Linked DNA regions of Homo sapiens: regions 1, 2, 3, 4, 5 and 6 are each linked to region 7. The links are contacts of gene promoters, found by promoter capture Hi-C in blood cells and fetal thymus (Javierre and others, 2016). All regions are on one chromosome and are shown on one strand. The core of a region is centred on a gene start or on the middle of the fragment in contact, and the rest is flanking DNA. Distances in the headings are between cores, read along the strand shown.

Evidence for each region. Contacts are between HindIII fragments. The CHiCAGO score rates a contact against its expected background, and 5 or more counts as called.
Region 1: a contact is called between the fragment with the promoter of ATL1 here and the fragment with the promoter of SOS2 in region 7, in 2 of 17 cell types (M2 macrophages and M1 macrophages). The highest score is 6.1, in M2 macrophages.
Region 2: a fragment that was not itself captured here is called in contact with the fragment with the promoter of SOS2 in region 7 in 1 of 17 cell types (erythroblasts); the score reaches 5.1 in erythroblasts.
Region 3: a contact is called between a fragment that was not itself captured here and the fragment with the promoter of SOS2 in region 7, in 10 of 17 cell types (monocytes, activated CD4 T cells, M1 macrophages and 7 more). The highest score is 7.8, in monocytes.
Region 4: a fragment that was not itself captured here is called in contact with the fragment with the promoter of SOS2 in region 7 in 3 of 17 cell types (erythroblasts, M1 macrophages and total B cells); the score reaches 6.0 in erythroblasts.
Region 5: a contact is called between a fragment that was not itself captured here and the fragment with the promoter of SOS2 in region 7, in 7 of 17 cell types (activated CD4 T cells, erythroblasts, M2 macrophages and 4 more). The highest score is 7.6, in activated CD4 T cells.
Region 6: a contact is called between the fragment with the promoter of ARF6 here and the fragment with the promoter of SOS2 in region 7, in 11 of 17 cell types (non-activated CD4 T cells, total CD4 T cells, naive CD8 T cells and 8 more). The highest score is 10.6, in non-activated CD4 T cells.

Annotation. Positions count from the first base shown.
Region 1 is chr14:50,558,595-50,561,484 of GRCh38, reverse strand. It overlaps ATL1 (atlastin GTPase 1), which reads right to left and starts at 1,340. Exons shown (of 14, transcript NM_015915.5): 1 at 1,186-1,340. The coding sequence starts at 1,219. It also overlaps a transcript of MAP4K5 not described here. RefSeq lists a silencer at 646-1,005 and an enhancer at 747-1,246. The HindIII fragment of the contact is 3,968 bases long and covers 1-2,890 here.
Region 2 is chr14:50,503,243-50,505,942 of GRCh38, reverse strand. It overlaps MAP4K5 (mitogen-activated protein kinase kinase kinase kinase 5), which reads left to right. Exons shown (of 33, transcript NM_006575.6): 3 at 1,086-1,143. Among named protein-coding and RNA genes, the nearest start is that of MAP4K5, 28 kb to the left of the region's middle. The HindIII fragment of the contact is 701 bases long and covers 1,048-1,748 here.
Region 3 is chr14:50,540,257-50,542,956 of GRCh38, reverse strand. It overlaps a transcript of MAP4K5 not described here and a transcript of ATL1 not described here. Among named protein-coding and RNA genes, the nearest start is that of MAP4K5, 9.0 kb to the right of the region's middle. The HindIII fragment of the contact is 3,612 bases long and covers 1-2,700 here.
Region 4 is chr14:49,908,839-49,911,710 of GRCh38, reverse strand. No RefSeq gene overlaps it. Among named protein-coding and RNA genes, the nearest start is that of ARF6, 17 kb to the right of the region's middle. The HindIII fragment of the contact is 4,514 bases long and covers 1-2,872 here.
Region 5 is chr14:50,523,791-50,526,547 of GRCh38, reverse strand. The region is part of intron 2 of MAP4K5 (mitogen-activated protein kinase kinase kinase kinase 5); the gene reads left to right. Among named protein-coding and RNA genes, the nearest start is that of MAP4K5, 7.4 kb to the left of the region's middle. The HindIII fragment of the contact is 3,320 bases long and covers 1-2,757 here.
Region 6 is chr14:49,891,723-49,894,422 of GRCh38, reverse strand. It overlaps ARF6 (ARF GTPase 6), which reads right to left and starts at 1,341. Exons shown (of 2, transcript NM_001663.4): 1 at 1,266-1,341; 2 at 1-1,167. The coding sequence starts at 686. The coding sequence ends at 159. RefSeq lists enhancers at 412-461, 492-811, 1,682-1,781 and silencers at 972-1,161, 1,202-1,591. The HindIII fragment of the contact is 6,329 bases long and covers 1-2,700 here.
Region 7 is chr14:50,229,975-50,232,864 of GRCh38, reverse strand. SOS2 (SOS Ras/Rho guanine nucleotide exchange factor 2) reads left to right here and starts at 1,287. Exons shown (of 23, transcript NM_006939.4): 1 at 1,287-1,668. The coding sequence starts at 1,582. RefSeq lists an enhancer at 376-465 and a silencer at 616-1,695. The HindIII fragment of the contact is 6,352 bases long and covers 408-2,890 here.

The sequences.
Region 1 (2,890 bases), core at 91-2,590, 330 kb before region 7:
GTGGAACAGAATCAAGCAGCTCTGAACTTTTCAAATAATAACAACTGTTATTTCCAAATAACAATTTCTAAATAACAAGCTGATGAACAAAATATTTATTTACCCACCAAGCCACAGTAGCCTGAGACATTCTCTGGTTCAGATAATAAAATAAATGCCTTAGAGGGCTTTCGTTCCTAAGATGCTGGTGAGTTTAGCACTGTGACTGCAAGAAATCGGGAACCTACGACAAAAAGACGCCCAGCCTGCCCACACTAACCGTCCAGAACTAGGTCTGGAGCAGCAAGGCGGGCGGGGCCGCGATTTCTTCCGCATCGCTGCGCCCGTTCTTCTCCGCCTGCGTGAGCACCGCCCACCCACTCGCGGTGTGAACATACTGGGTCTCGCCTCTCCTTTCCCCTCCCCTCGGCCTGGTGCTGAATCATGAGCCCAATGTCTCCAAAAGGTAAAATCAAAGAACAAAGCCACCCTTGGGGCTGGTCTGAATGGGGTACCACGTCGGGGTGGGGCAGAAGGCTGGAAACCACAACTTTGCTCTCCTTCTTCCCCAATTCCCCCACCCAACCCCCAAATTAAGAGGAGTACTGCAGTGCTCAGGAATTCCCAAGAGGGTGGCCCTTCTCCCAGTTGCTCGGTCTGCTACCGTCCGTCCGGGACCCGGCGCGCTCCGCCTCATTGTTCCAGCGCGCCGCCCGCCGCCCGCCGCCGGGAGCCCGCGCCCTGCAGAGCCAGCGAGTTGGCGGCTCCCGGGGAGGGGGGTTGGGGCTTGGCCTGCTCTAGATCCCCGACCCCTCGCCCCTCTGGGGCCGAGTAACAACAGCCCCCTGCCCACCCCCATAGCCTTCCTCCCAACCGATCGCTAAGGCGGAACCCACAAGTCCCCGGAGGCGCCTGGTGGGTGCTGTCCAAATGCTGGGAGGAGGCGGGAGGGGGGTGGGGAAGAAGGAGCTGGAGGCCCGGCCTGCGCGAAGCTGCAGCCCTCACCCCGACAGCGCGATTCGGTGACGCGGGTACCGCTCGGCCATGGTTCCTCCGCCCAAACAGGGAGCGGCTCGGCTACGGCCCGTCTCCCAGCCGTGGACGCAGGCACCTAGCAGCCCTTGGCCCTCCCTGTCTCCACAGAAGCAGAAAGTGGAGGGCCAGAAGACCCCGTGCAGGCTGCAGAAGTTCTCATTTGCTACTCACCCCAACTGTTTCTGTCCCTGCGGTTCTTGGCCATGGTGGTCCAGGAGCTGGTGGCGGTGAGGCGCTGTCACTGCGCTCGCTGCCTTCTCCGGGGCCGCAGGTTGCTGGCGGTGGGAGGCTCCGTGCCCGCGCTGGGCGCAGTTCGCTCAGACTCTGAGGATGTTGCTGTGGCGCTGGTGGGAAGGAGTGGGGAGGAAAAGGGAGGAGAAAGCAGATGAACCAAGCTCAGCATCACAAGCCCGAGTTCACACAGATACCAGCGTCACACCCTCCCTACCTCAGTCCACCCCCAGACCGTGAAGACAGTGATAGACCACGTACCGCAACATTTTCAACGGAAAACACAAACAAATAAACAGCACCCCCCTCGAACACACTCTCAAAGAATTTAACAGCGTTATCAGAAATACACAAACCGATATACTGCATGATTCTGGATGTTCAAATACCTGTTTCAAGCACGGTTATACATTAGTACAAACAAGCTGGCAACATTTATATAGCCAAAGTAGCTAAAATAATGTGCATTTATCTACGAGGCACCCATTTTTTTTTCCATTTTAAAAGCAAGGTCATGTTAGTAAAGAGGGTATCATGCATTTTTGTATATGTATACTGAGTAGTTTGTCTTAAAATTAGAATAGCAAAATTTATATCAAGAAGATCAAGATAAATGAAAGCTGTAGATTCATTACGATCTGTAACTCAATATCCACTGGGTAAAATTTCCCACTAGATTTGCAAAGATAAGGTCCAGACCTATAGTCCAATAGCAATTATTTGAGCTGAAATCATACTACATAGTCTGGGTATGGGTGGGCCCTGGCAGCCATAAAGGTTGCAGACAATTTTGAAAGGAAAAGAAAAAAAATAAAAATACTTTCAATCTTTCCCTTTTCACTGCTTTCTCTCTGCTACAAACTTAGTTGTTTTCAGTAACCTGGAAACACTGTCCCTTTATACTACCTCAACCTCAAGATACCATCATGCCGTCCCTTACAGTTTCCTTCTGCCATTTGGTTGTTACTCACACTCTGTACTGATCGGTTCTTAGGAGATCACTGCCAGCCTCTTAATTACCAGATCCATGATCTCTGCTAATTCCTCATGGTAAGCAACTCCTCACGCTACACTCTCTCAATGTAATTTACTATGATGGCTTCAGACAGGACCTCCATGCTGATGATTCCCAAATCTATACTTGTAGTCTTCTGCCCTCTAGAAGAGAGGACATTATACCAGAGGTGTGTTTATAACTGCCTAAGGTTATCCTCACGTTGTTTTCCTACTGACATTTGAACATCAACATATCTGAAAACAAACTCCCCCACCACTGCCAAATCTTATGCATTATATTTCAGTTACTGGTTCTAGTGACTGCAGAGTCGTGAACACTGTAACCAAGTTTACAACATGGTTTTAAAGAAGTCTGTGCTCAACAGAGTTGAAATGACATTAATGAAACAACATAGGAAGACAGACATTATCTCATCCTTATACCTATAAACCAAGTTCATAGAACAAAAGAGAAGTGTGGTCTGCTTTTCTTCTTATATTCCTTTACTATCATTCTCAGCTTACATTCCAGCCTGAAAATCCCTTTCATATGAATCCCATTTTTAAGAGTACAATAGATTACACACAAAAAAGAAAAAATTTATATAATTCAACACCTATGCCCAATTGAAAAAGAAATTAATTTTTT
Region 2 (2,700 bases), core at 149-2,648, 270 kb before region 7:
GGTATGTGTTCATATTCACAACCTTTGACCTAGTAATACCGTATCTTAGAATCCATTTAAAACAAATATGTCTTAAATAATGAAAAGACTATATGTAACATCCTTTATGTCCAACAATAAAGAGGATTATTATATGGACTATGTTATAATCATTTAATTTTCACCAACAATAAGTTTTGGCAGACATGGTTTTAACATCCAAGGTTTTAACATCCAAGGTCGATGACAGTAAAAATTCGCACAGTGTTTTAGAGCAATATGGCAACATACCCATTATAAGTCCACATACCTTTTGGTCTCACAATTGTATGTCTAGGTTGCCTTCCTTATAAGCTGATCTATGGTAAAATATTGGTAATGATATTCATTGCAGTGCTAATTATAGTAAGTTTGTTGATATTGTGTTAAATAGTAAATAGTTTCTCTTCTAGACATTTAACTGAAGGAAATAAGGCTGTGGATAGATACAAAGCTAAGATATATGTATCCCTATTTTTATAACTTGAAAATAATATTAAAATTGTAAATGCCCAACAATAGAGGGTTGGGTAAATTATATATCCTGTCAGTGGAAAATCAGGCAGCATTTGTAATCATGTCTTAGAAGACTATGATGGGGTCATCTTCTTCCATAATGCACATGCATATACATATGTGTACCAGGAAAGAGATGCATGTACACTGAAATGTTCACTGTTTTTCTCTAGGTAGTTAGATACAGATGATGAAAATTTTTAATGACCTATGATTATGTTTTCTGATATAAATAAAACCCATGAGATTTTTAAAATTAAAAATATTAACTAACCCGAGGCTGAAGAAAAGCCTTGGAGGAAGTAGACCAAATTTTAAACAGGAGCTGTTTTTGAGTGGTGGGACTATTGGTAATTTTTTAAACACTTTTGTGTCTTATCTATATTTTTCTTTAATGGGAAAATGAGTTTGCTCAGCATTTTATTGGAAATATTTTGTTTTTTAGTTTTGATAAAAGTATGGTTGATAAGCAATTAACATAGTACCAAGTAATTTTAATGTAATTAACAAGCTTTTAATTAACAAGATTTTTGTTTTTATTTTATTTTTAGGCCAGAAATGTACACACAGGAGAGCTGGCTGCAGTAAAAATCATTAAATTGGAGCCTGGTATGTGTTAAAACCCTCAAGACAATTTTTGAGGGTTTTCCATATTTCTTTCCTTGTTTCCCTTCTTCCCAGAAGAAGTCTTTATATGTTCTATCAGGTCAGTAGAATATCTTCAATTAAATTACCCTGAAGGTGGTTAGTTAAAGGTAAGTTTGATGTGACAGTTTTGTTGCCAAATAAAATTTGACATGTACACATTCAGAATTGGAAGACACATTGACACTGTTAAAGTAATTTTCTTTTAAGATGATAGTGAAGTATTTGAACTTCAGGTTTAGCTTTTATGAGAATTTGATTAGGAAAGTATTCAATGATTTTTTGGGGTGAATATTTGGGATAATGACATTTGTTTGTCAGCTATTCCCTTTGATTGATTTAGGTTTGTTAATTCTGGTCTTAGCTTAATGCTTATTTTATTAACACTTCTGTGTGTCAGAAGACTGCTTGTTTCAAAACACATTGAATAGTTTGCTTTGCAAATAAAACTATAGTCCTGGAACGGTTTTATGATTTTGATATCCTAAAAGTTTCTAATGAGTGCAGTAGTAGTTTTTGACCAGGTAAGCGAATATTTGGTGGTATGTTCATTTGCTGGTTCATAAGCTTAGGCACGTAGGATAAGTTTGTGACCATAATTATGCCAGTTTCCTAGTTTGAGCGGTTAAAATGACTTTGCATTTCAAACACAGTATTTGAATCATTATACATGTGATTCATTAGAGAGATAATAGTACTGAGGTAGCATATGCTGGAACACTTTAAAAATAAGCTTTCAGATATGTCCCAGTATCTTTTTTGTCCTGGCAAATAGAAATTGTTATAATAATACTCTTTCAGGATCCTCTTATTAAGTGCCACCTAATAAGTTTAAAATGATCTCCAAAATGTCACTAACACAAATAGGGAATATAACAGAACTATACAAGCCTTTGCCTGTCCTGGAAAAGTCACTAGAGCAAATATTCAAATTATGTTCAAGGATGGTTATTCAAGTTATGTCCAGGTACTGGCGTGTGCTCTCAGAGAAAACAAAGATATTTATCCCTTTTCTGTCTTAAGCGAGTGCAGTGGGCTTGTTACAACACGGTTTCACTTACTTGACTTGAGGGTATGGCTTATTTTTCATTAGGTTGATGCATAAATAATTGCAGTTTTTGCCAACCTAATATTATAGCAGTTTTTGCCAACCTAATATTATAGTTCATTATAATGAATTAATGAGTGTATTTTTTAAATCCTGCAATTCTGAATTCTCAATAAGCCATATATTAGAACTAACATAAGAAGGCAATTCAGTAAAAAAGAAAAATATGTGTATGATTACTTAAAATATAAGGATTAAATGCAAGGATCATAAGACTCTTTTGAAAGGCTGGAATTTCTCACTGCCTTGTTTTGTAAAAGCTACTGATTATTTTATGTTAGATGTGACCCATGTATTAAGATTGAGTAATATTTCAACCTGTCCCCCAAAAAAGAATAACATGGAAGTTCAGTAAATATTGATGATGTGATCTTAGTATTTGGCCATTTAAAAATTTTTTTGGTTGCCTATTC
Region 3 (2,700 bases), core at 82-2,581, 310 kb before region 7:
CCTTCCAAGTAATTGACCAACCTATTAGCTACTGTGCATGAATCAGTACAGATCCATACCTCAGATCAGCTCTTCTTCCTAAAAAAGAGGACAACCAGATGTATTGTTCAAAGTTATATCCACTGGGAGAATTTCTCCTCCTATCTTTCAGGGCCACCCCATTATGGTGTGGGCACAGAATTCTGTGGCTCTCTGCTTCAAGTTGGTGCTAGCATATTATGCAGACCATTAATAAACCAAGCCTAAACTTTTTCTTCCCCTGCTAAATGGCTATGAGCCTATAGATAATGGGTTGAAAAAAAAACAGGTGGCAAAGAAGTAAGGGCAGGTCCAATGGACATTTGTTCCATATGATTTACTTGTGTCTTCCAGATCATCTCAGGCCACCTCAGTGTATACTCTTCCATTTGACAACGGAATTCTGCTGCCCATGTTCAACTTACGATCCAGTAAATTAGGTAACATCCAATTTCTTTTATTTTCTTTTATTTTTTTAATTTTACTTTAAGTTCTGGGATACCTGTACAGAATGTGCAGGTTTGTTACACAGGTATACATATGCCATGGTAGTTTGCTGCACCTATCAACCTGTCATTTAGGTTTTAAGTCCCGTATGCATTAGGTATTTGTCCTAGTGCTCTCTCTCCCCTTGCCCCCAACCCCCTCCCCCCGACACCACAGGCCCCCGGTGTGTGATGTTCCCCTCCCTGTGTCCACGTGTTCTCATTGTTCAACTCTCACTTATGAGTGAGAACATGCAGGGTAACTCCCAATTTCTAAAGAGCAGTTAATGTCACATAGTTACTTAGTATCCTGTGGTCAGGAGTCTAGCCTCTACTAAGACCTAGAAGTAAATCAAGAGTTGCCTTTCAAACAGACAATAGCTGTCAGCAGATAACAGCATATTCTTTTTTTTTTTTTTTTTTTTTTTTTTTTTTTTTTTTTTTTTTGAGACGGAATCTCGCTCTGTCGCCCAGGCTGGAGTGCAGTGGCGCGATCTCGGCTCACTACAAGCTCTGCCTCCTGGGTTCATGCCATTCTCCTGCCTCAGCTTCCCAAGTAGCTGGGACTACAGGCACTCGCCACCGCACCCAGCTAATTTTTTGTATTTTTAGAGAGATGGGGTTTCACCGTGATCTCAATCTCCTGACCTCGTGATCCTCCTGCCTCGGCCTCCCTAAATGCTGGGATTACAGGCGTGAGCCACCGCGCCTGGCCAACAGCATATTCTTATACCAAAATCCTAGGGGTCTGCATTGGGATTCTCCTACTGGGGTTGCAAGAGACTCCATACAGTTTCCTGTTTACCATTGGGTCTGCTGAATCCTAAAGCCTAAGTGTCAGGGCAGCTTGCATCATAGCCTTCTCTGTAGTACATTATGTAGTTCCAAGTGATATGAACAAGGTGGCAGTCATACAGGTTACATGGGTCAAAGAGTAGCAAATGCAGTACATTGTCTCAAAATACAAACAGGCCAAACAAACACTGTGCATCTTTAAGGTGGATGATACAAGGTAGAGCACTACTTCCTTGTTAGAAATGTCACTAATGTGTCAGGTTCCTGAACTGGGTTTATCTCTCGTTCTCTGGTATTAGTGGTATTTTTTAAAGTATGTAGGGTGGTTGCTACTTCCTGCTCACAAGGTGCAATTTGCATAATGTTATCAAGATAAAAGACTACCATGATATTCTACTGGATATCAAGGAAACAAAGGTCCCTCTGGAATGATACTCTATCATAGAACAGAAGTCTTTAAATATCCCTGAGGTAGTACAATGACAGTGCTGTTGCAATCATGTGAAAGCAAACTGCTTCTGATTATTTTTGCTGACGGGAATTGAAAAGAAAGCTACTTTCTAGTTTTCAAGTCAATAGCTACCTTCTAGGTGCCAAGAGCTGTTCTGATTTGCTCTAGTAAAGATCCCCCATATGTGGAACCACAACTATGACTAGCATCAACATTTGATTAAATTTTTAATAATCCACATTCTCCAAAACTAATTTGGCTATTGCACAAGCCAAGAGGAGTTAAAAGGAAAAGACTTGTATCTTTCATATCTTTAATGGTGGCACTAATCTCTGTAATTTCCCTGGAGATCAAATTTAATCTTGGTATTCTACTTTGGCATGGGTAAGAAGTTAGCTAGGGAGGTTACACTTGTTCCTACCTATCATAATAGCTCCCTAGAAACCTAATGTAGGAATTCTGCTACTCAATATATCTATACTCACATATATTTTGGGACTGGAAAAATAACTCCAGAGTGGATCTTTAGTCCCACTTGACTTTCTTAAATCTCTACTTTAATCACTGGAATTTTGGCGGTATTTTGAGACTGCAGAGATTATTATTTAGAGCTAATATCAATTAACCTCCAGAATGTATGAGAATCACCCATTCCTTAGCTCACAATCACCCTGGTAAAAGGCTACAAGTACCTCTGGAAATGGCCTTGGGGAAAAGTCACCGTTTATACCTGGCTGCACTATGGGACTCTCCCTCAAAGACATCCGCCCTCACCCTTAATTAAGGGACTCCAGGTTTGTGAATTGGTTTATGTCTAAGATTCAGGTAATATGTCTTGAATCTCTGTTACAGAGATTTCAGTTAGGTTTCTACCAATCAGTCCCAGGATTTTTCCACCTACATATGTCAAATGGCACTTAAGTACGCTGATGGTTTTATTCATTCCTAGAG
Region 4 (2,872 bases), core at 349-2,848, 320 kb after region 7:
GTAGTTAAAGGAAAAAAACTAACACCATTCTTGAATCAATAATGCCTGTTCTCAATTGTTACCTATTAAAAGGTAAAATACAACAAATAGTTGGTTTCTTATCACCTTGAGAATATCTTTTTCACTGAATATATGTATGTGTGTGTATGTGTATGTGTGTGTGTGTGTGTGTGTGTGTGTGTATATATATATATATATATATATATTTTTTTTTTTTTTTTTTTTTTTGAGATGGAGTCTCACTCTGTCACCCAGGCTGGAGTGTAGCAGCGCAATCTTGGCTCACTGCAACATCGGCCTCCTGGGTTCAGGTGATTCTCCTGCCTCAGCCTCCCGAGTAGCTGGGACTACAGGCGCCCACCACTGTGCCCAGCTAATTTTTGTATTTTTAGTAGAGATGGGGTATCATCATGTTGGCCAGGCTGGGCTCGAACTCCTGACCTCAAGTGATCCGCCCGCCTCAGCCTCCCAAAGTGCTGGGATTATAGGGATGAGCCACCGCTCCTGGCCTGCTTTTATTTTTTTATCCAAGATTCAGAGGGTACGGGCACAGGTTTGTTACATGGGTATATTGCATGATGCTGAGGTTTAGGCCTCTAATGATCCCATCATCCAAGTAGTGAACACAAGTAGTTCTTCAAACCTGGCCCCCCTTCCTCTCTTCTGCCTTTTTGAATCCCCAATGCCTACTGTTCCCATCTTTGTGTCTGTGTGTACCCAGTGTTTAGCTCCCACTTATAAGTAAGAATGTGCGGCATTAGGTTTTCTGTTTCTGTGTTAATTCGCTTAGGATAATGGCCTCCAACTGCATCCTTGTTGCTGCAAAGGACATAATTTCATTCTTTTTTATGGCTGCATGATTTAATTTTTTAAATTATTAAACTAGAGGGAAGAAGGAAAATAGAACTAATTTCTCTTGAGTGCTTACCATGCCAGATAGGGACTTTCTCATAAGTTACCACTTTTTGTGATAAAGCCTTGCTGGGTGAACATTACCATCCCGATTTTTAGCAGGAAAACTGAGACAAAGAGATAGATTTTCCAGTGTCACTTAGCTATTGAGGTCAGGGTTGGAATTCAAACATAGGTCTATCTATTTGAGACTATTGACTCAAAATTCAATGTTCTTTACCCAAATCAATCCTGTCAGAAAGGAAACTAAAAATGCTTGCAAAAAAAAAAAAAAAAAAAAAGGTAGGAAGGGCTGGACACAATGTCTCATGCCTGTAATCCCAGCGCTTTGGAAGGCTGAGGCAGGTGGATCACCTGAGGTCAGGAGTTCAAGACCAGCCTGGCAAACATGGCAAAACCCCATCTCTACTAAAAATACAAAAATCAGCTAAGTGTGGTGGCACACACCTGTAATCCAAGGTACTCAGGAGGCTAAGGCAGGAGAATCCCTTGAACCCAGGAGGCGGAGGTTGCAGAGAGCCACAAAGATCCCGCGACTGCCCTCCAGCCTGGATGATAGAGTGAAACTCCATCTCAAAAAAAAAAGATAAGTATCATATATGGCTTATATGAGGAAAGGAGGTTCTCTTCCATCTTCAATCCTTTTTCCATTCAATGAATGGCCTTCATAGCATCATACATAGGATGTTTCCAGATCCTAATTTCTTGGGTATTTCTAACACTGTAATCCAGAATCCAGAAATCACAATTTCCTAAATCACTATTTTGATGCTCAGCAAAGCAGCATGGACCCTGAGGTGTATCAGTGGGTAACACTTTAGGTTTTATTAGATTGGGACATGCAGCAAGAAAAAGAACCTAGAAATTACCATAGGTTTGAAAGGAGAAAAATTAACATGTCTAGGATGTCTAAGCATATGGAAACAATAGCCCTGCCAACCATATTGATTGATTGATTGATTGATTGATTGATTGTTTAAAAAGAGATGTGGTCTAGCTGGGTGTGGTGGCTCACACCTGTAATCCCAGCGCTTTGGGAGGCCGAGGTGGGTGGTTCACTTGAGCCTCAGGAGTTCGAGACGAGCCTGGCCAACATGGCAAAACCTCATCTCTATTGAAAAAAAGAAAAAAAAAACAGACATGGTCTCACTATATTGCCCAGGTGGGTCTCAAACTCTTGGCCTCAAGCAATCCTTCCATCTTGGCTTCCCAAAGTACTGGGATTACAGGTGTGAACCACCACTCTTGACCAGAAGGCAATTTAGAAATGTTGTCATGCTAGTCTAAAATCCATACTGTATTCAACAAGATACCCAAGAAATAATAAAAGAAAAAGATATATTAGTATTTATTTAAAACATTTCCCCTAAGATACCACTACCATATTATTATACTAAGCAAAAAAAATAAAAAATAAAAATGTAATGTTTTAGTCTTTAATTCAAGTTTGTCTTGATGACAAAAACAGGATTTAAGATACTTCAGTAAGTTTCTAAATATTAGGTTCTTGTGTAAAATGCATTTACTGTCATAAATCAAGTATTACTCATGAGTTGGAGAGAATTAAAAATGCAATCCAATCTTATAAAAAGAGTCCAAGTCATAAAGACAAGCAATCAATCATAAAAGGTCAAGAATTTTTTATATAATATGCCAGCGTTTACCTTGAGAGACCTATCTATGTTTACCTACAGACTTGATCATTAGTTACATTTGAGATTTTTTTTTTTTTTTGAGACGGAGTCTCACTCTGTTGCCCAGGCTGGAGCACAGTGGCGCGATCTCGGCTCACTGAAAGCTCCGCCTCCAGGGTTCACACCATTCTCCTGCCTCAGCCTCCTGAGTAGCTGGGACTACAGGCGCCCGCCACCACGCCCGGCTAATTTTTTTTTGTATTTTCAGTAGAGACAGGGTTTCACCGTGTTAGCCAGGATGGTCTCGATCTCCTAACCTCATGATC
Region 5 (2,757 bases), core at 217-2,716, 290 kb before region 7:
AAGGCTGGTGGATCACCTGAGGTCAGCAGTTTGAGACCAGCCTGGCCAACATGGCAAAACCCCATCTCTATTAAAAATACAAAAATTAGCCGGGCATGGTGGCAGGTGCCTATAATCCCAGCTACTTGGGAGAGGCAAGAGAATTGGTTGAACCCGGGGGTCGGAGGTTGCAGTGAGCTGAGATTGCGCCACTTCACTCCAGCCTGGGCAACAAAAGCAAAACTCCATCTCAAAAAAGAAAAAAGAAAGCAGACATGTAAGCAGTCATAATTTGGTAGAAAATTATGTGCCATAGAGGAGAAGTGGAAGAAATGCCAAACTCTGCCTTTATTGGGGATGAAGGAAGGGAGAGAGAGGAGTGTGAACCAAGGAAGATTAACAGAGGAAGGAACATTAACTGGATTTTTAAAAGAAGACCAGTGGTTTCTAGGTAGAGAAGATAGGAAAAGATATTCCAGGCTTTGGGTATAGTATGTGCAAACACCTGGAGGCTTGAGAAGCCGTGATGAGTTTTGAGAGATCTGCATCTGTATTCATTCCAGGTTCAGTGTGACATCTGGCAGAGATGTCATTTCAATTATTTATTTTTATTATTTTATAGATGGAGAATAGAGGCTATTTTCTGGCAGGAAACACCAGCTAATGGACTCCATGTGTCATATCAAAGAATTTGGACCTTTTCAATTATTTATTTTTATTTTTTTGAGACAGGGTCTTACTTTTTCACTTAGGCTGCAGTGTAGTGGCATGATCTCAGCTCACTAGACCCTCCGCCTCCCAGGCTCAAGTGATCCTCCCACTTCAGCCTCCTGAGTAGCTGGGACTGGCACACACTGCCATGCCCAGTTAATTTCTGTATTTTATTTTATTTTTTTGTAAAGGTGGGGTTTCGCCATGTTGCCCAGGCTGGTCTTGAACTCGGAGGCTCAAGCAATCCATCCACCTCTGCCTCCCAAAGTGCTGGGATTTTAGGGTGTGAGTACACTGTGCCCGGACTAGAGAAACACTTTTTAGGAGGAAATATCTTACAGTGTAGTGTAAGGATTTTACAAAGTGGCTAGAAATGTAGAGACCAGTTCCCGAATAATCCGGATGAGAGTTTATGCAAGACTAAATTTAGGCCCTGGTATAGAAGATGAAAGGAAGGGATGGATTTGAGTCATATTTAGAAGATGATCAAAAACACCTGGTAATCGGTGAGGGGCAGGAGGAGAAGGGTAATTGATGGCATTTAGAATTTCTGGCTTGAGTGACTACATTGATGCTATCAACAGAGTTAGGAAATACCAAATATGTGGAGTCTGGATTTTGTGTTTGGTTTTGAACATAAGGCATTGCATAGGTGAATGTGTCTGGTAGGTGGTAGGAAATGCACCTCTGGCCTTGAGAGTTCTGGACTGGGGATACAGGTTTGGGAGTCATCATCACTTTATGGGGTGGTACCTGTGAAATATAGGTGAGGTCACCCAGGAGAGTTTGTAGGAGAGCTGAGGAAAGGCTGTAGCCTTAGAGGGGTGGCAGAGAAAAATAATATATTGAAGGTGTCTGAGAAGAAACAAAGCGGTATGAGGAAGTTCTTTTCATAGGAACGAAAAGTTTCAAGAGATGATCTCTATCATCAGCTGCCTCCATTCTTGTTCCTGTTTGCTCTAACTGCAATGAGGAAGATGAATTCATTCTCCAAAAAATATAAATCTGAAGTTTTGTGTCATTTCTCCTTTATTTCCTTTGTCTGTAGAATAAAGTCTTAGAATAATATTCCTGTTAAGGCCCTGCTTATCCCAATACCGTATCCATACTGAACTTTCAGTTCTTTATATGCACTCTACTCTCTGTCTTTCAGATTTTTGCAGGTATTCCTTTAGAACACTCTTTCTCTTCCATCTTATCGCCTACTCTTTGGGTTTCTGTTTAAACATTACATTTCTCGGTGGGGGGGCTTTTCTGTCCCTTAGAGTAGGTCACACCTAGCAGCTGTATGTTTTCAAAGCTCCATGTACATTTTTTATCATGATACTCATCATTTATCACTTCTCATTTTTGCTTGTCTTCCTGGTAGACTAAAACTGCATGAGAACAGAGATCTTATGTTTACTGTTGAAACACCTGTACTAGTATATTGCCTAGTATATAGTATGTGGTCAATAAATATGCCTTGAAGGAGTAAGCAGCATAGTGGTCATGTAAGCAAGGAGTTGGAAGGGTTCATTAAGAGTAGAGTTGAGGTATGATTGGTAAGTGAGGAAGTAGAGGGAATGTAGCCTGCTCTCTGAAGCAGCTTAGCTATGACAGGAAAGAGAAATGAGGCACACAAATGTTTCTTCTTGTTTCAGGGTTTTACTTTCATCAAGACTGAGTGATTACAGCATTCAGTTACCATTCTTTAAGTTTGTCGTATCACCCAAGTGTCTAAGACGATTGCTGAGTTTAGAGATGGAATTCTACAGAGAAGGAAATCAAGACAAAGAATTTGGGAGGAATTGAGAATTCAGAAAGCAGATAAAAGGAAAAAACATAGGATGGATTTTTAGGGACTAGAGTAGGGGATAAATGTAAAAACCTCCCTCCCTTTCTGATCTGGAGCCTTGTTTGTTTATTTCCAGTCCTAGTTGTTCCACTGCGAGCATGGTTAGAGTGAGGCATGTTAATGAATGGGAGCTGGGATGGAGAACTGGGAGGACAGGATGCAAAGGAGTATTTAACATTCAACAAATACTTATAGAAGGCCTCCTATGGGGCAGACACTGTTGTGGTGCC
Region 6 (2,700 bases), core at 92-2,591, 340 kb after region 7:
AACCCCCAAGCCCCGTCCCCGCCAAACTGTAGAACAGTAACTCCAGAGTTCAAATTCAAAAGAAGAGAAAGTGGCAATTGAAAGAGGTGATGGTGGCGATAATCCTATGAATGGGTTTTTGATTTCTCTCCTTCCAGGGGATGGGTGGAGAATGCTCATTAAGATTTGTAGTTAGAGGTTAACCATGTGAGCCCCTCATAGAGTCCGTCCCCTGAGGTGGCACAGGAGGGCTGCACATACCAGTTCCTGTCCCGAATCCGGGTCAGGCCCAGTTTCTCCTGGATCTCGTGGGGTTTCATGGCATCGGGCAGGTCCTGCTTGTTGGCGAAGATGAGGATTATGGCGTCCCTCATCTCCCGGTCATTGATAATGCGGTGCAGCTCCTGGCGAGCCTCATCGATGCGGTCGCGGTCGGCGCAGTCCACTACGAAGATGAGACCTTGGGTCCCAGTGTAGTAATGCCGCCAGAGCGGCCGGATCTTGTCCTGGCCGCCCACATCCCATACGTTGAACTTGACATTTTTGTAAGTCACCGTCTCCACGTTGAAACCCACAGTGGGAATGGTGGTCACCGACTGGCCCAGCTTCAACTTGTACAGGATTGTTGTCTTGCCGGCCGCGTCCAGGCCCAACATGAGGATCCGCATTTCCTTGTTCCCGAAGATTTTGGATAGCACCTTCCCCATCGCGTCGGAGGAGCCGGGGCCGGGGGCATTCAGGTGTCCCGGGTCCCCTCAGCCAACAACGCCGCCGCCGCCGCGAAACCGAAACGAAGCCTCTCGGCCGCGAGAGCGCCTTTGCGGCCTGCGTGGGAGTTGCCTCCTAAGGGCAGAGGCCCAGGCCCCCCGCTCACTCGGGCATCACCGACCGCACAACTTGATTTCTCCAGTCGCCGCCGCCACCCGGGCCCTGAGACTGCGCTGGGAGCCGCCGCCCTGCTGAGGCGCGGCCCGGCCCGGAACTGCCCTTCCCCCCGCAGGCGCCGCGCGAGCGCCGCCGCGGTTCCCGCTCCTCCGCCTTCCTCTCACCGCGAGGGAGACTGCAGCCCTCCGGCCCGCCCGCCGGCCTGCGAGCACTGGGCTCCCCACCGACCCAGGACACCCGAGAGGCAGCGCGGCTCCGGGGCCCCGTCAGGTCATGGATCCTCGCGGGAACTCGGTGCGCTGCCTGCAGAGAAACAGAGAGGGAGGGGAGTTACTGCCAGAGCTCCACAAAGGAGCGAAGACCGAGGTGGCCCGCCTTTCCAGCTCGGCCCAAGGGGTTACCTCCAGCCGCCGCCCCGAGCGCGGGCTCCCTCCGGCCTCCAACTCCTCCTCCCAGTTCTGCCGCCGCCGCTGCCGGAAAAGGCGCCGAGGAAACCGCCTCACTTCCCCTCCCGACCACGCAGGCGCAGCAGAGGCCGACCGTTCGGACAAGAGCGACCTCTGTAAGGAGAGCGGCCCGCGCGCCTAGCGTCATGGGCGCCACGCGCCGGAGGGGCGGGGCTACGGCGCCTCGGAGGGCTCGCAGATGCGGCCGGCCCAGAGCCCTCGAACCTCGGACTCTGACTCGCGCCTACCCGTGGCTCTTCTAGCGTCTCCTTCCCTGCTTTTCTCTTTTGCGCTCTGCCCTCCCCTGCCCACCCGAACCAAGGGAGCAGATCTACTGGGGGGCCCTACAGGGTGGGGCCCACGGGCAGCCCGCTCTCTCCACGAACCGAGCTGCCTCCAGGCCTGTTCCCAGACCTCGGTGCCCGCCAGATGCTCTGCGAATTCCCTCCGCCCGCCCCAGCCTTCCCGCACCCTCCGCGCTCCCTGAACGTCCCAGGGAAGCTCTGTTCGCTTTTGTTTTTTTTTTTTTTCCCTTTTTCGCAACCCCTTCTTGGCTTCCTTTATCCCTTGAATTTTGTATGTTTCCTGAAAGACACGTGGGAGGCCAGTGTCTCGTGTGGAATCTGCCAGTCAGTGCAGCGCTTTCCCGGAGTTGAGTTTACTCTGCAGCTCTTTTGAATGTTTGAGCCCTGTCTGCCTATAGGTCTCGTCAAGACCAGCCCATGTTTCTTAAAAACTGCAGTATTATGAAGAGTTCCTGTGCCTTGCCGCGTTTTCACCTTTTTAGAATGCGACATCTGTTCATCTTTAAAATATCATTTTATCTCATACTGTTAGTAGTAGCTTCTTAACTACTACCCATTCTTAACTTTAAGAAGCATAGAATTTAGAATATAGAACGACCGCTTGTATGGCCTGGATCTGGGCACTTAACCTTACTAAGTTTATCTCGTGTAAACTGACCTTGCTAACTCACGTGAGGCTTAAATAATACAATGTGGAAGACTTCAGGGCACATTTTTGGTTTTTTGGTTTTTGTTTGTTTCTTGAGACGGGGTCTCACTCTGTCGCCCAGGCTGGAGTCCAGTTGCACAATCTCGGCTCACTGCAGCCTCCTCATCCTGGGTTCAAGCAGTTCTGCCTTAGCCTCCGGAGCAGCTGGAATTAGGTCGCCCACCACCACGCCCGGCTAATTTTTGTATTTTTAGTAGAGACGGGGTTTCACCATGTTGGCCAGGCTGGTCTCGAAGTCCTGACCTCAGGTGATCCACCCGCCTCGGCCCCCCAAAATGCTGGGATTACAGGCGTGAGCCACTGCGCCCTGCCAAGGACACATTTTTGTATCAAATGGTTAATGATAAAATTAGACTTAAAATAACGTGAAACCTTC
Region 7 (2,890 bases), core at 38-2,537:
TTGCTCAGCTACTGATGCCGGAACTGAATTGTAGTACTGACTTATTTTTTGTACCCTGTTCGTCTTTTCCCTTTCTCACTGCTGGTGGCTAGGGACAGGGAGTAAAATATCTTCTTTACAACCTGTTAAAAGTAATGTGCTCAGCCTCTTTAGTGGGATGAAATTTGTGGTAATGAGTTACCAGAGCCTATGCCTCTTTGGATTGAAAAGCTTGTCAGGATCTTTTCTGGGTTGCTAATGAGTGTTTCCTAGACGCCGATCCAGGTTTTGTAGGACCTGAAGCCTACACAATTTGGATGACACGATTAAGAAAACAATTCGAAAATATCTTGAAAGTTTTGTAAAAACGATATGATTTTGTGAACGCACAGGGGCCCGTGCAAGTGAAGGACCTTTCAATTCAAGCTTGATCAACGTCACTGTCATCTGCCCCTTCTGACCCTACCACCAGGCTAAGGGCTTTCCACGCCTCATCTCTCGGTCCCCACACCATCACCCTAAGAAATAGTTACTGTATCTCCTAACGATATATTATATATAGTACCTACTTTGTGTAAACATACGGTACTCATGAAAACAAGCCACGTAGAGCACAAATACGTTAAATATCCTGTCCAGCCCGAATGCCCCTTTCTCTCCACGTCCCTATGCAGCCTCCCACGACGGTAGTCCTGGGGCTCCAGCGCTACAAGAGTGGCACCGAGTCCGGATTGTCTTAAGCAGGTCGAGAGGAGGGAGCATATGGGTAAAAAGCAGTCAAACTGAAGAGTCTGGAGCGGCCCCCAGCACAGTCTCGGGAAAAGCGGACTCCCCCGGGGCCCCAGGCCCCGCACCCCCGCGCCGGGCTGGCGCCTGTGCCTGCTCCGCGGCGCGCATGCTCCGTGTTAGGCCTCTTGGGCTATTCGGGATAATGAGCGCCGGGCCGAGGGGGCGGGCCGAGCCTCGGCTGCTGGGACTCAGGGCTCAGCGGCGACCCCAAGGCACTCTGCGCTGCTGCTAAAGGGGCAGCAACGGCGGCCAGCGCTGTGCGCGCCATAGCGAGGCTCGCTCGCCCGACGCGCACTCCGGGTCGGTCCCCAGAGCTCTGTGGAGGTGACTCGAGTGGGCAGGGCCGGGCGGCGCTGTCGGCTGGGAGGGCGGGGAGGAGGCGATGAGGAGACGAGCAGCCGCCGCCGCCGCCGCCGCTGCTCACCGCCCGCCGCGGCCGTAGCGGGAGTCGGGGCGGGGCTGGGCCAGCTGTACCCCTGACGGGCCGCGAACCCAGACAAAGGAGGAGGAGCCGCCCCAGAAGCGGGCCAGCGCCGCCGGGAAAGGAGGTCGCCGCCCGGGGTCGCCCGGGCTTGCGGGTCGCCGCGCTTCCTCTGCGGGCGCTGCGGGAGGCGAGGGCCGCCTCGGCGGAGGAAGCCGACCCCGGGGTCTCCGCCAGCCCGCCGGCGCCGCCTCCGAGCCGCCTCGGCCGTAGCCTCGGCCCGGGCGGGAGGCGGCGGCCGCCGGCGAGGCGAGGCGGCCCGCGCCCTGCCTGTCAGGCCACCGGCCCGGCCCGCGGGCTGCCCCCGATGCGGAGGCGCTGTCGCCGGGGCCATGCAGCAGGCGCCGCAGCCTTACGAGTTCTTCAGCGAGGAGAACAGTCCGAAATGGCGGGGACTGTTGGTCTCGGCCCTGCGGAAGGTCAGTGCTAGGGGCGGGGCGGCCGGCGGGTGGCCCGTGGCCCCCCGAGCTTCTAACGGGGAGCAGGTCGTCCCTCCCACAGGGCTCGAGTCCCCGGGGCCGAGCCGTTTCTCGTTGGCTGGCAATGGGGGGCTCACAATTGCCTGTTGCATTCTGAAGGACGTTTCTCAAGTTTTTTTTTTTTGCCTGGTCCCGGAAGGAAGGTTTTGTTATGATCATAAAACTGGATTTCATGTTGCAGTCATTTCGTCAGGCAACTTCCGCCGTTGACCAATTTGTTGTCCTCAGGCTGGAATCGGGCAAGAGAAAGTCCCGCTGGTATTTAGACAGTTTCTAAAACAAAAGCACATTTTCAGGCCGGGTAATTACTTTTAATTAAGTTCTTTGGGAGTGTTCCCCCTAGGCGGTTTGCTTGTCAAGGGTATCCACTTATGAGGCAATGGTTTTTTGTAATATGGATGTTTCACATGTGTGAAATGTCAGTGAGTCATAATATTCTTATTCATTTTACAGTTCTCAAGGTAAATTTAAAGCGCCTTCCCACTTCCTGCAAACGGTGTCTTACCTGTTTACAAGAGATTACCCTTAGAAAATTTGGTCAGTGTCTTCAGTGTCTTCACGACCAAATTGCGATTTAGGACTTGAAATCATTTTAAGGAACAAGAAAGGGGCAACTCCTGCAAATCAGTCTTTCATGTTTGGGTGCATTGCTAGGGTGCATCTTTCCTGTAGATGGTGGCGGTCTTCCTCTGTGAATTTAGGTAGTAACCATACGATCATTTTTATAATAAATCCTTCTGTAAGATCAAGACATTTAAAGACTGTGAATAGGTGCGTGATCAGCTGTCATGCCTGTTGAGCAGGGGCTTTCTTTCTTTGCCGTTAATGCAGACTTAGTCTCTTCTGCCTTTTGTGCAAAATAACCAAGAATACATTCTAAAATAAGGAAAAAATAAAGATTAATTTAAAAGACTATACTTGGAAAATATATCCTCAGACATTAAATTTCTATAAATGAAAGGAAGTAGTGTATTTTAAAGTTAAAGACATTTTCCTCATGCGATGAGAGTTGCAGATTTTCCCTTATTTTCATAATTCTTACAAGGAAGTATTGCTTTCCTCAGGGCAAACACTAAGTCGTATCTTTTTAAAGAACCTGGCAGAAATGACTAGTGGCAGCTAGACAGTTATTCCATTGGTATACCAAGTGCTAAAGTATTAA